Linked DNA regions of Homo sapiens: regions 1 and 3 are each linked to region 2. Evidence: promoter capture Hi-C in 16 types of primary human blood cells and fetal thymus (Javierre and others, 2016). All regions are on one chromosome and are shown on one strand. The core of a region is centred on a gene start or on the middle of the fragment in contact, and the rest is flanking DNA. Distances in the headings are between cores, read along the strand shown.

Region 1 (4,627 bases), core at 1,578-4,077, 290 kb after region 2:
AATTATTCTTTATGCTAAGCTGACTATGTCTTTATAAATTTGTCCCAATGATTCTATCCACTGACTTAAAAAAACATAACTCTTCCAAAGGCAGGCAACCTTCAAAACATTTCTAAACGCTCATTAAGTTTCATAGAATTGGTTATCAGCATAGGTCCAAGGATAGAAAATCCCTGTGTTACACCTATTCTGCCCATTTTGGTGTTAATTGTTTAATCAACCATGTCTGGGCTCAGTTGTTCATCTCTGAATTCATTCAAGTTTTGTTATTCAGCTATATTTCTGTATTTTTTCTAGGAGGATATCTTGAGAAGTCAATTAGTTAGGAAAATCCTAATAGCTATAATCAACCAACTCCCAAGTTTCAATGATTAAACAATAGAACTTCATTTGCCACTCAACAGTACAGACCAGATGTTTTTGGTAGGTGCGTATCTCTCTTCCACATGTGATACAGCCATCTAGACTCCTTATGTTTTATGGTTCTGTCATTCTTAGGGTCTTTGAGTCTTCTGCTTCAGTTAGCTGGAAGGAACATCTGCTTCTTCAAACCCCTGTCTAGAAAGGATGCTCATCATTTTCACTCACATTCCATTGGCAAAACTTGTCATATGGCCCATCTAGACAAAAGAGGCCTAGGGAATATAATCTACGGTGGGCTGCCCTCTTTCAGAATTTAGCTCAGCATATGGAGAGGAAGCGCTTATGTTAGACAGATGGCATGTTGGCTTTGTTAAATTATTTCTTAAATACAGAAATAATGTGTCTGGGAAATTTCTGTGACCCAATAGTCTAGTACAGAATCTGCAAACTTTTTCCATAAAAGGCCAGAAAGTAAAGATTTTAGGTTTTGTAGATCATATGATCTCTGTTCCAAGGACTGTCATTGTAATGCCAAAGCTTCCTTGTATGACAAATGCATAAGTGTGGCTATGTTCTAGTAAACTTGATTATGAAGACTTAAATTTGATTTTTGTATAATTTTCATGTGAAGAAATATTCTTCTGTGTTTTTGGTTTGCTTGTTTAAAAATATGAAAAAAAGTTTTAGTTCTCAGAAACACAAAAGCAGACTGCATGCCAGATTTGGACTGTGTGCTGTGGTTTGCTGATCCCTGATCTAACATCACACTCTAATAGAAATGAGATTTGTATAGCATCCTTTGAGTTAAGTGAATACTTGCTAAGTCTTAGTACTCACTGTTTCCCTGCCCCTATAAATTTTGGTAAATCAGTTACTAATTAACAATGTATTCTAGATATCATATGATATGTAAGTCAATTCAGCAATCTGATTTCATACTTTATTAATTACTGCTACAATTTATTAAGAACTCACAAGGTACAATGATTTTACATACATTACCTTAACTCTTAAAAAACACGTTATGACATAGCTATTGTCATTCCCATTTTATCACTGAAGATATTAAGGTTCAAAGCAGCTAAAAAAATATTTTGCTTGTATTTCACACAGCTAGAAATGCAAAACCCAGAACTGAACCCAAAGTTGGATACAACTCTTTTCACCACAACAAGTTTTCCTGGAGGTAGATGCGTGAACTCATTAAAAACTGATAGCTAGTATTTTATTCTCTGTCTTCACTTTTGTTTCAGTTCTGTTGCAACTTTTCGTGTATATTTTATCATTTACAACTTCAAAATACTATTTCTTCAATGGATCCAAAACCTGCCAGGTACAGTGGCTCACGCCTGTAATCCCAGCACTTTGGGAGGCGGAGGCGGGTGGATCACCTGAGGTCAGGAGTTTGAGACCAGCCTGGCCAAAATGGGGAAATCCTGTCTCTACTGAAAATACAAAAATTAGCTGGGAGTGGTGGTGTGTGCTTGCAATCCCAGCTACTTGGGAGGCTGAGGTAGGAGAATCGCTTGAACCCGGGAGGTGGAGGTTGCAGTGAGCCGAGATGTCTCCATTGCACCCCAGTCTGGGTGACAAAGCCAGACTCTGTCTCACACAAAACAAAAAACAAAGCAAAACAAAACAGCACAGCTAATGCCAAGTGACAGTGGAGAGTGGAGACTCTCATTGTGGAGAGTGGTTTGGAAGTCCTAATGCCTGTTACTGACAGGGTGGGCAAGTGAAAAACCTCACAAGAAAGAACACATTCTCTCTGAAGAAAGAAAATAAAAGCAAGTAGGAGGTAAGTAGTTCTGCCCTTGAGCTCTGTGGAAATGTTGGCCTTGGTCTGTTACTAATATGGTCTTGGGTAATACACTTAACCTCTCAGATTTCTAATCTCAAAATTGCTTATTAAATTCATTTGTATACTGACCTTTTACAAGTGAACTTGAGGCAACATTGGCAAATCAAATTTAGCACCTATTCTGCAAAATTCACAAGGTTGCTGATGTTGCTCCAGTTAGGGTATGTGACGAACTGCTGATACTCCACAAATAAAAGCTATTGATATGAATAATTTAGATTTCTACACTCATAAATTATGTTCAGTTAGGCTCAAAACATACTGGTACTTATTCTATGAAATATAATAATCTTTAATGAGAATAATGTTATTTGCCCTTTCCCACATTGTATAAATGTTAAAAGGATGAATCCATTAATCTCTGTTAATATTTGCCCTTTGGACAAAACTATTATTAAATAATAGGATATACTTTCCCCTAGAATAAATATCACATTTCATAATAAATGTGTGTAATTAGAATTCTATATGAATTTCCAAACACAGGTATTAGTGAAATATTATTTTGGAGGAAAAAAAGTAGCCATTTTATAACTCATTGCCTCTTCAGTGGTGTTTTCACAGGGAAGTTACAGGTAAGATGCAAAGGTGTGGCATCAGCAGAAGAGGTGAAATGAATGTCTATATACCATAGCCTTTTTCTTATCTTACGCAGTAAAATTCAGTAGAAAGCAAATGGATATGCACAGTATTAAATTAACTTAACAACAAAGAGCTAGAGAAATTCTTTGTAGCAACACATCCTGCTACACACACGTCTCTCCTTCAGCAGGCTATTACCTTTTAACCATTTGAGGCTTCTCACATTTCCGCTGCAGCTGGAGCATATCCCAGGGCACTTCCTGCCTCTTAGGATTTTTGACACAGAGCCCTGTATCTCTACCATTTGGCTTCCTTCTAGGCATCCGATTTGTTGCAATGAAGATCAATTATGTCTCTATTGTCATCTTCATCATAAGTAAAAGATGTCCAGTCTACTTTCCAGAGACAGGTATACCAGTTTATGTGTGTGGCAGGGGGAGGGGAGAGAAGCAAGGAGTGGATGCCGTTCTGTTTGTTTTTGACACGAAACTGTTTAAATTTGCACATAGGGAGAACATAACCCAGACAAATATTCTTATCAAATGAAAATGTCACACTATATTTAGGGAGCCCTCACCAAAATCTAACCAGATCCATACTTCACCTAAACATCAGAAGAAAGGCTTTAACATTTGGCAAGGATTAATGATTGATTTCTTTTGTCTAGCCATATCAATCAGACTCTAAAACATGCACTTATTTTGACCCCATAATACAACTTAGGATGAGTTCATCCTGCATACACACTGACAAATGTGCATCAAGAAATATGAATAAATATGGCCATATTATTATTGTTCAAAAAGTAAAAAACCAGAAACAGCCTAAATGTGGATCAGTGATGGAATGGTTCAATAAACTAATAATTTGCATTTTAAATATTATGTTGCCATCAAAATTTGGAGCAGATTTATATGTACTTATATGAAAAGGGCTCTATTCTTATGTAAAAAAAAATTCATGGAATAAGACGTGTATTCTGATACCATTAATGTAAACAGTGGATGCATGCATGTATGTGTACCTACACACAAACTTAGAAACATATATGGAAGGATGTATATAAAACTATTAGTAATAATTTCAATTAGATAATACAGGAATGGAAAATTTGGAGCAAAAATAAAAGGTGATTTCTTATTTCACCCTACTTTGAATTTATTTTCTTTTTATATTTCTCTACACATTCATATCTACTTTATTAAGTCAAGCAGGTCAGCAACACAAAAGAAAATAGCCTTTGAAGACTCTCTTACCGTCTTTAAAAAGCTGTAGTTTTCTTTATCTCAATAAGCTCCTATAGTTATAAAGACTTTTGCTCTTTGAAAAACACACATAGGTGTCACACACAGATGTACCTGCAGGGAACAAGAGGGTATTAGCAGTGAATAAATTGTGGTGAGCAGACACTGAGGTAAACAAAGAATGCATGCTTTATCTGAAGTGGGCCTTAGCCTCAGACTATCGTGCCATTGTGACCCAGCATTGTAATTCTTGCTATCTTTCTGGAAAAACTGGAAATTCATATTATTAGGAGAAATGATCCTACTTTAAAAATATTGGTGCCTAAAGAGTTCAACTTTTTTAGATTCCACATGTAAGTGATACACGCAGGATTTGTCTTCCTGTTTCTGGTTCATTTCACTTAGCATAATGCCCTCTAGATTTATCCATGTTGTCACATGTGGAAGGCATGGAAGCATTCCTTTTTTTTGAAGACTGAATAATATTTCATTATATATGAGAGAGAGACATACACAGACACACATATACATACATACATGTATATACACACACATACATATATATCACTTTTTAAAA
Region 2 (4,701 bases), core at 1,936-4,435:
ACTTACGTAGCAGATAAGTTAGAGAAAAACCTTGAATTCCTTCTCTTACCCCAACTAATGATTTAGGCAGTGAGAGTGACCTTCAAATGCACACTCTTTAGCAAAGACAAGATAGGCAGCATTGTGCTTGACAAATATATGCTATTTTTCCAATTGAATAGTCCTTATTCTAAAGTATCCAATGCTAAAATCAAAACTGAACCCCAAGCAGCAAGTTGCAATATTCTGACACTATGACATCATTCTGTCTGGAGCACTTTAATATAACAATTTGAATAAATTGGCAGAAGCGTAAATAGGTCACACTGAAGCCCAAAACTAAGGCTATTTATCTGGCAAAAATATTCTGGCTCTGCATTTAGCACCATTGCCTGTAGAATGACAGGCCAGTCATTCATCTGTGTGTCCCTTCCATCAGAATAAATGAAAATAATGGAAATCTTGTCACATTCATATGTTGCTACTACTACTGATAGTGGCTTTTATAGCCAATATTTACAGACAGGAGCAAATCAAAGCAAAGATGAATGTTATCACATGATTTCATGGATGCTTTGGCACATCCTTACACAGAAATTTGTTTTTAAAACCTCCATTTCTTCAGTTATAAAGATACTGAGTCTTGCCTCAACTAAACTTATAATTGGCCCCAGATATCTATGAAATAAAGTCATAATGTGTTCCAAACATTTACTAATAAATCCAGGACAGTGCTACTGCTTCAAAAAAAAGAATTATTAATTTTTGCAAAGCAGCAAGCTACATCTTAAATTTATTTTATAATCATACTTAGTAAGGTAGGATACTGACAGCTACAGTTTCTGAGTAAATCTCTGTAAGGTATTCAGATTGACTTCTCTGGATACTGACACCCATCATGATTTCTTCTTGTGAAATTATAGTTTGTCTGAAAGCAACATGCAGAAACCACAGAGGTTTCTGATACTCTCAGCCTCACCACCCCCAACATAAATTTTCCTTTCACAATAAACAATGTGCCATCGAAAGGTTTCCTGTTTCAAAATGGAATAGTAGATGAAAGAAACTGTTAACTCTCCCATTAACAACAAAAAAAGTTTCTTAATGAAGATGAATTCTCAAAGATGAAAATGGAAACTCCCTCAACTACTGCTTCTTCACTTAAGAACTAATCTGTTTCTTTCCCCAGTAAATATTTTCAGTATCATACCAGATGATTGTCATGAGTGGTCAAAGACTTAAATAACCTGCTGGTACTCTTTTGTTATCTAAGAGCAACACAACCTCACAGAAGACAGAACAAACACTTCCAAGCATTCTATGGCCATACACCAACAAAAAGCAGCCAATGGTAAAACTTTACATACTGAGTCATGTAGAGGAACTCTGAACCTTAAAGAGTAGAAAGGATGAAAGGTTAAAAAACAAAAAAGTCTTTGAATCCAACTTTTCAAAAAACACAGAGTTGAAGAAAAATGATGAATTGAAATCAAAAGATTGTTGCCATAACAATGGTTGGTATTAATTAACAGTATAAATAAATCTGGAGAAACCACAGACAAAGTGAATAGTGTTTCGCACAGGCAACGTCAGACAGAACTTACCACTTTGTCCATGAGCTTCCAAGTCTTCTCCACGGTCCTGCGATCTGCGGCAGCTTGCTTAGGGGGTCCAACTGCATCCTGAATAGCATCAATAATACCCAAAATTCGACCTTTTCGGGGATTTCCTCCTCGACCACCAGGGTTTCTGCCATTCATTGAGTTTGCCATCTGGAATTTTAGTTCTTTAAAAGGCAGATTTAAAAAAAGAAAAGTTAGTTGGTTTTGAAAATATTTACCCACCAGAAAACTAGAGACTAACTTGTACCACTGCATCTTCCTCCATCGATTAGAGCAAAACCAAAAGTTCCGGATTCATCTTTATCAATAAGCTTGTGAATTTACACTCTCAATCTTTACACACAGTAGTTTTAAGAGCAGTGATCCTAGATTTGCTTTTACAATACTAAGAGTTAAAGATGCATCCTGCTCACGTTTCAAGTAGCTAAGGCTGAACTAATACTCAACTCATAAAAAAAAAAAAAAGAACAAACAAAACTTAAACAGGTTTCCCCCACCTAGATAAAAACAGAATGTTCTTCCCCTCCTGCCTTAATTCCAATTCAAAATACCAGAACAACTGAAGGTCCTATCATACATTTTGGGAGCCTTACGCAGAAACTTCACTTTCACTCTGTTAGATTTCTCCAAGTTACATAAACATAAAGATTATCCTACACAAACGTAAGGGACAGCTCTGTTGTCAACAAAAGCGCAGGGCATGTCCCACACTAAAACCACCAAGTACGGACACACGAACACCTTTCTTTAAATCAACGCGGTGAGTCGTTATTCCCAAGAACCAAATGAAATTAACACACAAATAGCCCATTTGAAAAGAGAAAAGAGAAAAATGACAAGAGCGGCCACGGAAAGGAGGAGTTCACTTCTCTGGCTCCTCGCCTCTGCCCTCAACCCAAAGCTTTGTTTCAGGACGCCTGTGTCCCTTCCCTGCTCAGGCCCCTTCCCGGCCCCTCGGGTCTGAGCTGCAGGAGGAAGGTGGACTGGGAGGGGACAAAGTGTCCCTCCCGTGCCCGCAGCACCGTCCGTCTAGGGCGCGGGAGGGACACTGTGGGCTCGGCGCCTGGGTGGACGCGCCTCCCGGCCGCCTGCTGCAGTCCTCACCGCCGTCTGCCTGGACGCCCTCTCCCTCCTCCCCGGCCTGCGGGTTCTGGTCTTTAAATGCCCCACTTCAAACTGGACGGCGGCGGCAAAGGCAGCTGAGAGCCAGGGCTGTCCCCTCTTCCTCCTTGGCCCGCGCCTGGCTACCCCGGGCCCCCGGGCCGGCAAGAAGTGTGGAGCCTCCCCGGCGACCCCTTCCCTTCTTGCCTTTCGGCGCCGTAGCTGTCCAGAGACACGCGTGTGCGCGGGTCCCACTCCACACGCACGCAGCCCAGTGTGTGTGGGGAGCCCCGGCTGGGAGTGGGATCGCTGAGAACAGCTCGCTCCCGAAGAAGGAGCAACCCAGCGCGCAGGCCTCCGAGACGTGGAAACGCAACAATTACCGTCAAGACAAATCCACACCCGCTCTCCCCTCCCGCCCGACTCGGGGAGGCCGCGGGACGCCGCAGCAGCACTAGCAGGAGGAGGAGACCGCTCGCTGGACACCCCACCCCTGTGGCACACACAGGACCCAGGCTCGGGGCGGGGCGGGGCGGGGGCGGGGCCGGGCGCCGCTGAGCCAATGCCGCGCAACCGCGCACTGCCCGACAGCGGGTGCAGCCAATGGACGGGAGGCGCCCGTCCTCCTCGCGCTGCCGCCCCGTCCACGTCCTCCACAGTACACAATGGCCCCAGAGGAAGGCCCGCTCGCAGCACGTCAGAAAGGAATTGGACTCGGAGAGAAATGAGGGGCCTGGACTCTCCCGGGAACGAAAGTGGAAACGGGAAAGGAAATGGACGAAGGGATGCAAGGCACGAAGGAGCTAACCAATAAGGGGTGGCAGGTGGGCGTGAGCGTCGGGACCGGGAGCCAAAGCCATCTGGGGCTGAAAGGCGGGACTTCCTGCTTCGCTTACCTTCCTAGTCTTTTGTTTCATAGCAACAGAGTAGTGGCTGGAAGGGTGTTGCTTCTCCGCTCTGGGCGGGTCCAACGCTGGAGAAATTCATCTCCCTAGGGCTGCCAAACCCTTCTACCCAGGACAGCAGCCAAACAGGTCTATGACGTTGCTTCTTGTTGGCTATCAAAAAGAGCAACAGCCACTGAGCTTCTAAAATGCAGAATAAATCTCACAGAGAGTAGGCTGGGGTGACATCTGAATGCCAACTGAAACTTCCCAAGTTTCCGAGTTTCTCTTTTGCTGTTAGTTTTAGAGGGATTGCAGACCAAACATCAGGCTGATGAAAAAGCAAATAGTTGACAACGCTGGCCAAACAGTCTCTGCTAATCATGCCAAAGCAATAAAAGTACCAGATAATGGGAATTGCTGATAAATACCTTGCACCTTTTTACTTAGTGCAAGTTTCTGCCTAAATGACTGAGGAGGAGACAGCTACTGTGTTTTGTCGGAGTCACCTTTACATAGATTTCTATCCATTTAAAAACAACCTTACTGTAGCTGCCATTCTCTACCAGCATTGTTACCTCTTTCTGTGGCTCCCTTCTTTGTGCTCTTAAAAAGGCCGACATCTGGCTAGTCTTTAAAGGAGAAAGCTACTGTGCTGGGACTTGTCTTTCAGCAATATCATAGGTTAAACAAATGCCTTCCATTTATTTCAGTTTACTTCAATCCCACCACTCATGCTACCAACAATTGCTCTGGACTTCATACTTTGGAACTTTCTTTCCACTACAGTTGATAGCGTTTATTACACTTTTCAGCTTGGACATCTCAGATGTTCTGATATTTTACATTGGGTTTTTTGTTTTTGATTTTGTTTTTTCAAATCTTGCTCTAACCACGTAACCTGATAAAATGTTTCTCAATGGTTCTAACCACTTTCTAGCAACTAAGAATTTTAATACTGTAATTATTACTATGAAGGATCCTGAGTTTTCCTTTACAGCCTTGAATTTACATGGTTAAGATTTTAATTTGACGAAAACAGAAAAAAAATGTGCCTTTGCAACCAGTCAGGTGATAAAGTGTGATTCAGGAAGTAATTTTGTTTCCTTGTCATT
Region 3 (4,632 bases), core at 1,012-3,511, 270 kb after region 2:
CATTAAAAAAAAAAAAAAAGAAAAGAAAAGAAAAGAAAGAAACGGGGGTGTGGTATTTTCAAATCTTTCTCATAGACCCTCTTTCTAGTACTGACTGGGCATCAATATATGTGGTTTTTAAACCTTTGGAGAAACAAAACATTAATAATATTCAGTGCATAGAAACTGCAGAAAACACAAAGAATTAATCATGCCTGGTGACTTGCCAAATTACCGATTTCTGTGGTTATATAAAGAGGATATTGGAATAAATGCTGTGAAAAACTCTAGAGAGGTCAGTTTTCATAAATAAGTCATAAACTCCATGGAGGTGTAGGAAACTGGCCAAATACTGCAAGCTACGCAATGCCCAAAGATAAACCTAATAAAGAGAAAGGGATTGGGAAGAAGAAATAAGGAGGGTCTACATTAAAGAATTCAGTACTGCGCTTGGGTACAGGAGGGATTTGGAAATAAGATTGTAGTTTGAGTTACTACAAATAAAGCTAAAAAAGAAAGCGTGCCAACAATTTAATAAAGCTAAAAAAGAAAGAGTGCCAAAAATTTAATAGTAATATCCCGCAAATTGAAGCAAGCAAAGGAACTATATCTCTTGGTTTCAAAATGGAAACAAACATAAAATCTCATTCTTTCACAATTACCTAAATAGGAATTTGCAATCAAAGTGCTATGATTCAGTTGAAATTAATCTTGCTTCATTAATGGAAGTACTAAGGCAGCAAAATAAGAGTGTAAAAGCTAAGGGAATATTTACTTAAGAGAACACCCTATATTAAGCTTTCATATTTTTTCCTTTTTAATGTAATTGTAGCAGCGAAACTAGATGGAATAATGCGTGCTATCACAACTCATTTCTATGTTTGTTTAAAAAGGTTACAATTAAATAAATTACTTGCTATACATGTTTATAATGACATTTTCATAGAATTATGGCTACAGAAGACCTTCGGTGTTTATCATCTGAGTCTGTTTATATGTGTTTGCCTCAAACATCTTTTACTGCAGTACATACTCTGAAAGGCTTCATGTTATGGATTTTTATACTATTTTATCATTCCTGAGTGATATGAAATATGATTTTTAGAAAAAATATATTTATATTAGGTTAGAATTATTAAAGATAGTGTTTAAGGTTTAGCATGAACTTTAATAATAGTTAGGAAACTATTTAACTTCAAAGTAATTATGTGAGAAAAAGCTTGACTTAATGATAAACTTTAAGATGGCATTGTATCAAATCTGACATTAGGGCCAAATATACATTAAAATAAAGATTATACTTTAATAAAGATTTTCAGTATTAAAAATGAACAAAGCTGACATTGTGAGCTGCTGTTTGTAATTCTTTTAGCTTACACTTAAAAGAACTTCAACTTTAAAATTTCTGTGCTCTGTTGATAACTGAGGAGATGAAAGAGGATTTCAGCCTTTTATTTACTTTCACTTTTCCACATGAAATATATTGTGGTTATGGATAGTCTTTATTTCCAAATGCGCTATGATCAGTACCATCTTTTATCTTTTTAATATATATTTTTAAATTACTACAGAAATTATTATACGGCATGTGATGGTCTTTATCTGAAGGATATAATTTATAGATATAATGAAGATCCCTGAGGTGAATTTGCAAAATAATCATTTATTGTTCAACATTAAGTGTTCCTTGTGATTATGGTCTTTAACTATCATCCATTAGGGTGTAAATTGTTCTAGCAGTGTTCAGCTGACTGATAAAGATACTGAGAGAGAGACGGAGAGAGAGAGAGAATGCAAGCATGAGAGAGAGAACAGCATGTTAATCAGATTCCTACTCCCTGTTGTGCATACTCAAAGTGCATTCTGAGGTCCTAAAAATCTGTTCAGTTATAAAGGGGAAAATAATTATTTTTTGTTTGAAAAATTGTATTGAAAAGGAACTCCACTACCAACTTAAATAATCACAAACTTTTGCAATATATTTGTGAATCTTCAGATATTTAAGAAGCACAGGTGAAAAAAATGGAATTTAGAGAAGTTTTTGAAAGGCAAAATGCACTGAACAATTAAAGATATGATTTTATTCAGGCTACTGCAGCCTGGAAAATGTGCATTAATGAGGAACAGCTAAAAGAAAAGGAAGAAGGACTGGAGTTTTATAGAGGCAAGTAAACAAGGGAGGTAACTTCAGTTCTTATAGGACTGCAGAGAATGCATGGAGATGGGTCTTACATTTAAGGGCAGAGTAATCTCTTATGATTTCCCAGAACATGAAAATATGAGGCAATTTCTTATCCATCACTACTTTCAAAGAGTACAAAAGTCAGGTGACATTCAACATTTTCATTCTCCCTGTTTCAAAGATAAACATCATTAATCACTGAACAACTGAGAGGTAGTCATAAACCTTAGTGGGGTGAATGAAGCAAGGCCTAAGATATAGTCTTTCAGGGATTCTTTTGACAGTGTCCTGTAAAACCAGTTAAACAACCCATTGAGGGATGGTGGCAAAGTTGAGTTGTTTTAGATACCTGAAGATTAGACATCTAAAAAAAGAGAGATCTAAAATGAAAAAGAAATATTAATATAAAACATTGTATTAGCGAGCCAGGAGCTGAACCACTTAGGGTAACAAATCCAGTGGATTCCAAGAAGTCAGAGGGTAAAAATCTTTTGGTTGTAAAGCAGTGTTCTTTGAGTTTCTCGTAGCTCTTGGGCTAGGCTGTCAATATTCTTGGTGATGTTGTCCACATCTCTTGCAGAAGGTCATACATGACCCAACCTTTTGGCTTGACTTTTTTTGCGTTCTAGTTAGAGACTTGCCCAGGAAGAAATCCAGCCCAGGCGTGGTCTACTGTGATGATAATATTTTGAAGTTAATATTTCAAGGCTTCTGTAGACTATGGGGAAATGAGCAGGATATAAGGCAATGAGAATCTGTGCATTCAGATTTTAGTTCTAAATGAGGCCAAGTCAGGAAAAAGGGAGATAAATTGAAAACATTAGTTTGAAAGGTTGTATTGAGTCAAGATTTCAAGTTACCCAAAGATCTTCGAGATTGTATTCAAACTTTTCTATGATAAAACGTAATTTATGATGAAAAAATTTTCTCAGAATAATGATTTAATTAGGTAAAACACAAATTTATACTCTTCGTAGTTTTAAACATTCAGGAGAACAAGGCCAGATGCAGTGGCTCAAGCCTATAGTCCCAGCACTTTGGGAGGCCAAAGTGGGAGGATCACTAATGCTACTTTATTTGTTCAGTAAATGTATGTAAGTTTAGGAAGAATATACTCAAGTAAAATAAAATTAGGTATACTATACTTGTGCTGAAAAATCAGAGAAAGCTTTTTTCACTAAACCAAAAATTTAAAACTAGTTTTGTTTGATGAAAACTTACTTGAATTATATTAACTTGAATTGTTAAAATAGTTCAAGGCTAGTTTCTATAATATCTTTTTTTTTGCACACTGAAACTATAAGATGTTCACTTTTCTTAGTTTCTGAGAATTTTAGGATTATTTAATTTATGTAAGTGCTTATTCCTTTCAAAGCCAATTAGAAAAGGATTCCTTTAATATAAAAGAGTTTGCAATCTAACTTATGAATACCATGTGGAATTAGGAAAATATTCCACCCAGTGAGAGGGAAAGGGCTTTATAAATTATAGACATATAAACATACTTTATACACACAGATGTAACTTCACTTCTAAAATTTTACTCATAAGTTGATCATAAACAGAAATACAAAATTTATATAAAAAAGCTGTTCTCTTTCTAGTGGGTCTGAATTCTTACTTGATTTGAGCTCATAATAGATACACAGAGATTTAAAAAACAGATTTTCTGTCATCTTTCACCCAGCAGAGACAAAATCTCTACAAACCATTCATTGGAGACCACCAAATGAGTGGTCAAATGGTTTATTTTTATTTTTTTAAAAAGAAGCCAGCATTAGAAATCAAGTGAGTGCTGAATAAAAATGAAATCAAATCCTTACCACACAACCAACAGACGAGACTACAGAGCACAAGACCAGATGTAGGACACACCATTGGGTCCCCGGACTGCCAGTTAGGAATGGAGCACCAAGGGACCAGAGAGGCCTCCTTATCAGGGTGGAGTAAATGGGGATCCGAAGGTGAGATCCAATCCCCTCTGAGTCTTGGCATCAAACTGTGAAAGACAAAATGCACGGGACAACTAGAAAAAAGATTTTATTCAGGTTATTGAAATAAAGACAACATTCATTCATGAGAAACAGCTTGACAAGAAAAGGAAAGGAGCCTGGGATTTTATAGAGGCGGGTAGAAAAGAGAGTCATTCAGGAGTCCCAATCTGAGGCACAGATAATTATAACTGTCCAAGTTCTCATCCTATTTAGTGGTCAACATGGATCCAGACCTCTAATTTCTAATAATTACTTCAGCCCTTTTTCTCAACCTTAAACATTTGTCCCTCAACAAGTCAAAATTAATGAAGTTTTCCCATAATTTGGAAAGGTAGGAAATAATAAACAGAAAAAAATAGTTGAAAAGTTTGAAAAGTGAAAGTACAGCTATGTCTCAAAGAAAGCATGATGATGGCTTTGGAGAATCTAATATTTCTTAGCCAATGATGGTGAGGTAGTTCCCTTTGGTGAAATGTG

The links. The method cuts DNA at HindIII sites, captures the fragments that hold promoters and counts their contacts. A CHiCAGO score of 5 or more calls a contact.
Region 1: a fragment that was not itself captured here is called in contact with the fragment with the promoter of CBLB in region 2 in 4 of 17 cell types (activated CD4 T cells, total CD4 T cells, naive CD8 T cells and 1 more); the score reaches 7.9 in activated CD4 T cells.
Region 3: a fragment that was not itself captured here is called in contact with the fragment with the promoter of CBLB in region 2 in 1 of 17 cell types (activated CD4 T cells); the score reaches 5.1 in activated CD4 T cells.

What each region holds. Positions count from the first base shown.
Region 1 is chr3:106,158,392-106,163,018 of GRCh38, forward strand. No RefSeq gene overlaps it. Among named protein-coding and RNA genes, the nearest start is that of CBLB, 290 kb to the left of the region's middle. The HindIII fragment of the contact is 3,859 bases long and covers 899-4,627 here.
Region 2 is chr3:105,865,827-105,870,527 of GRCh38, forward strand. It overlaps CBLB (Cbl proto-oncogene B), which reads right to left and starts at 3,186. Exons shown (of 19, transcript NM_170662.5): 1 at 2,910-3,186; 2 at 1,584-1,765. The coding sequence starts at 1,751. RefSeq lists enhancers at 1,058-1,107, 1,138-1,187, 1,308-1,397 and a silencer at 3,155-3,384. The HindIII fragment of the contact is 9,979 bases long and covers 2,501-4,701 here.
Region 3 is chr3:106,138,254-106,142,885 of GRCh38, forward strand. No RefSeq gene overlaps it. Among named protein-coding and RNA genes, the nearest start is that of CBLB, 270 kb to the left of the region's middle. The HindIII fragment of the contact is 2,131 bases long and covers 1,197-3,327 here.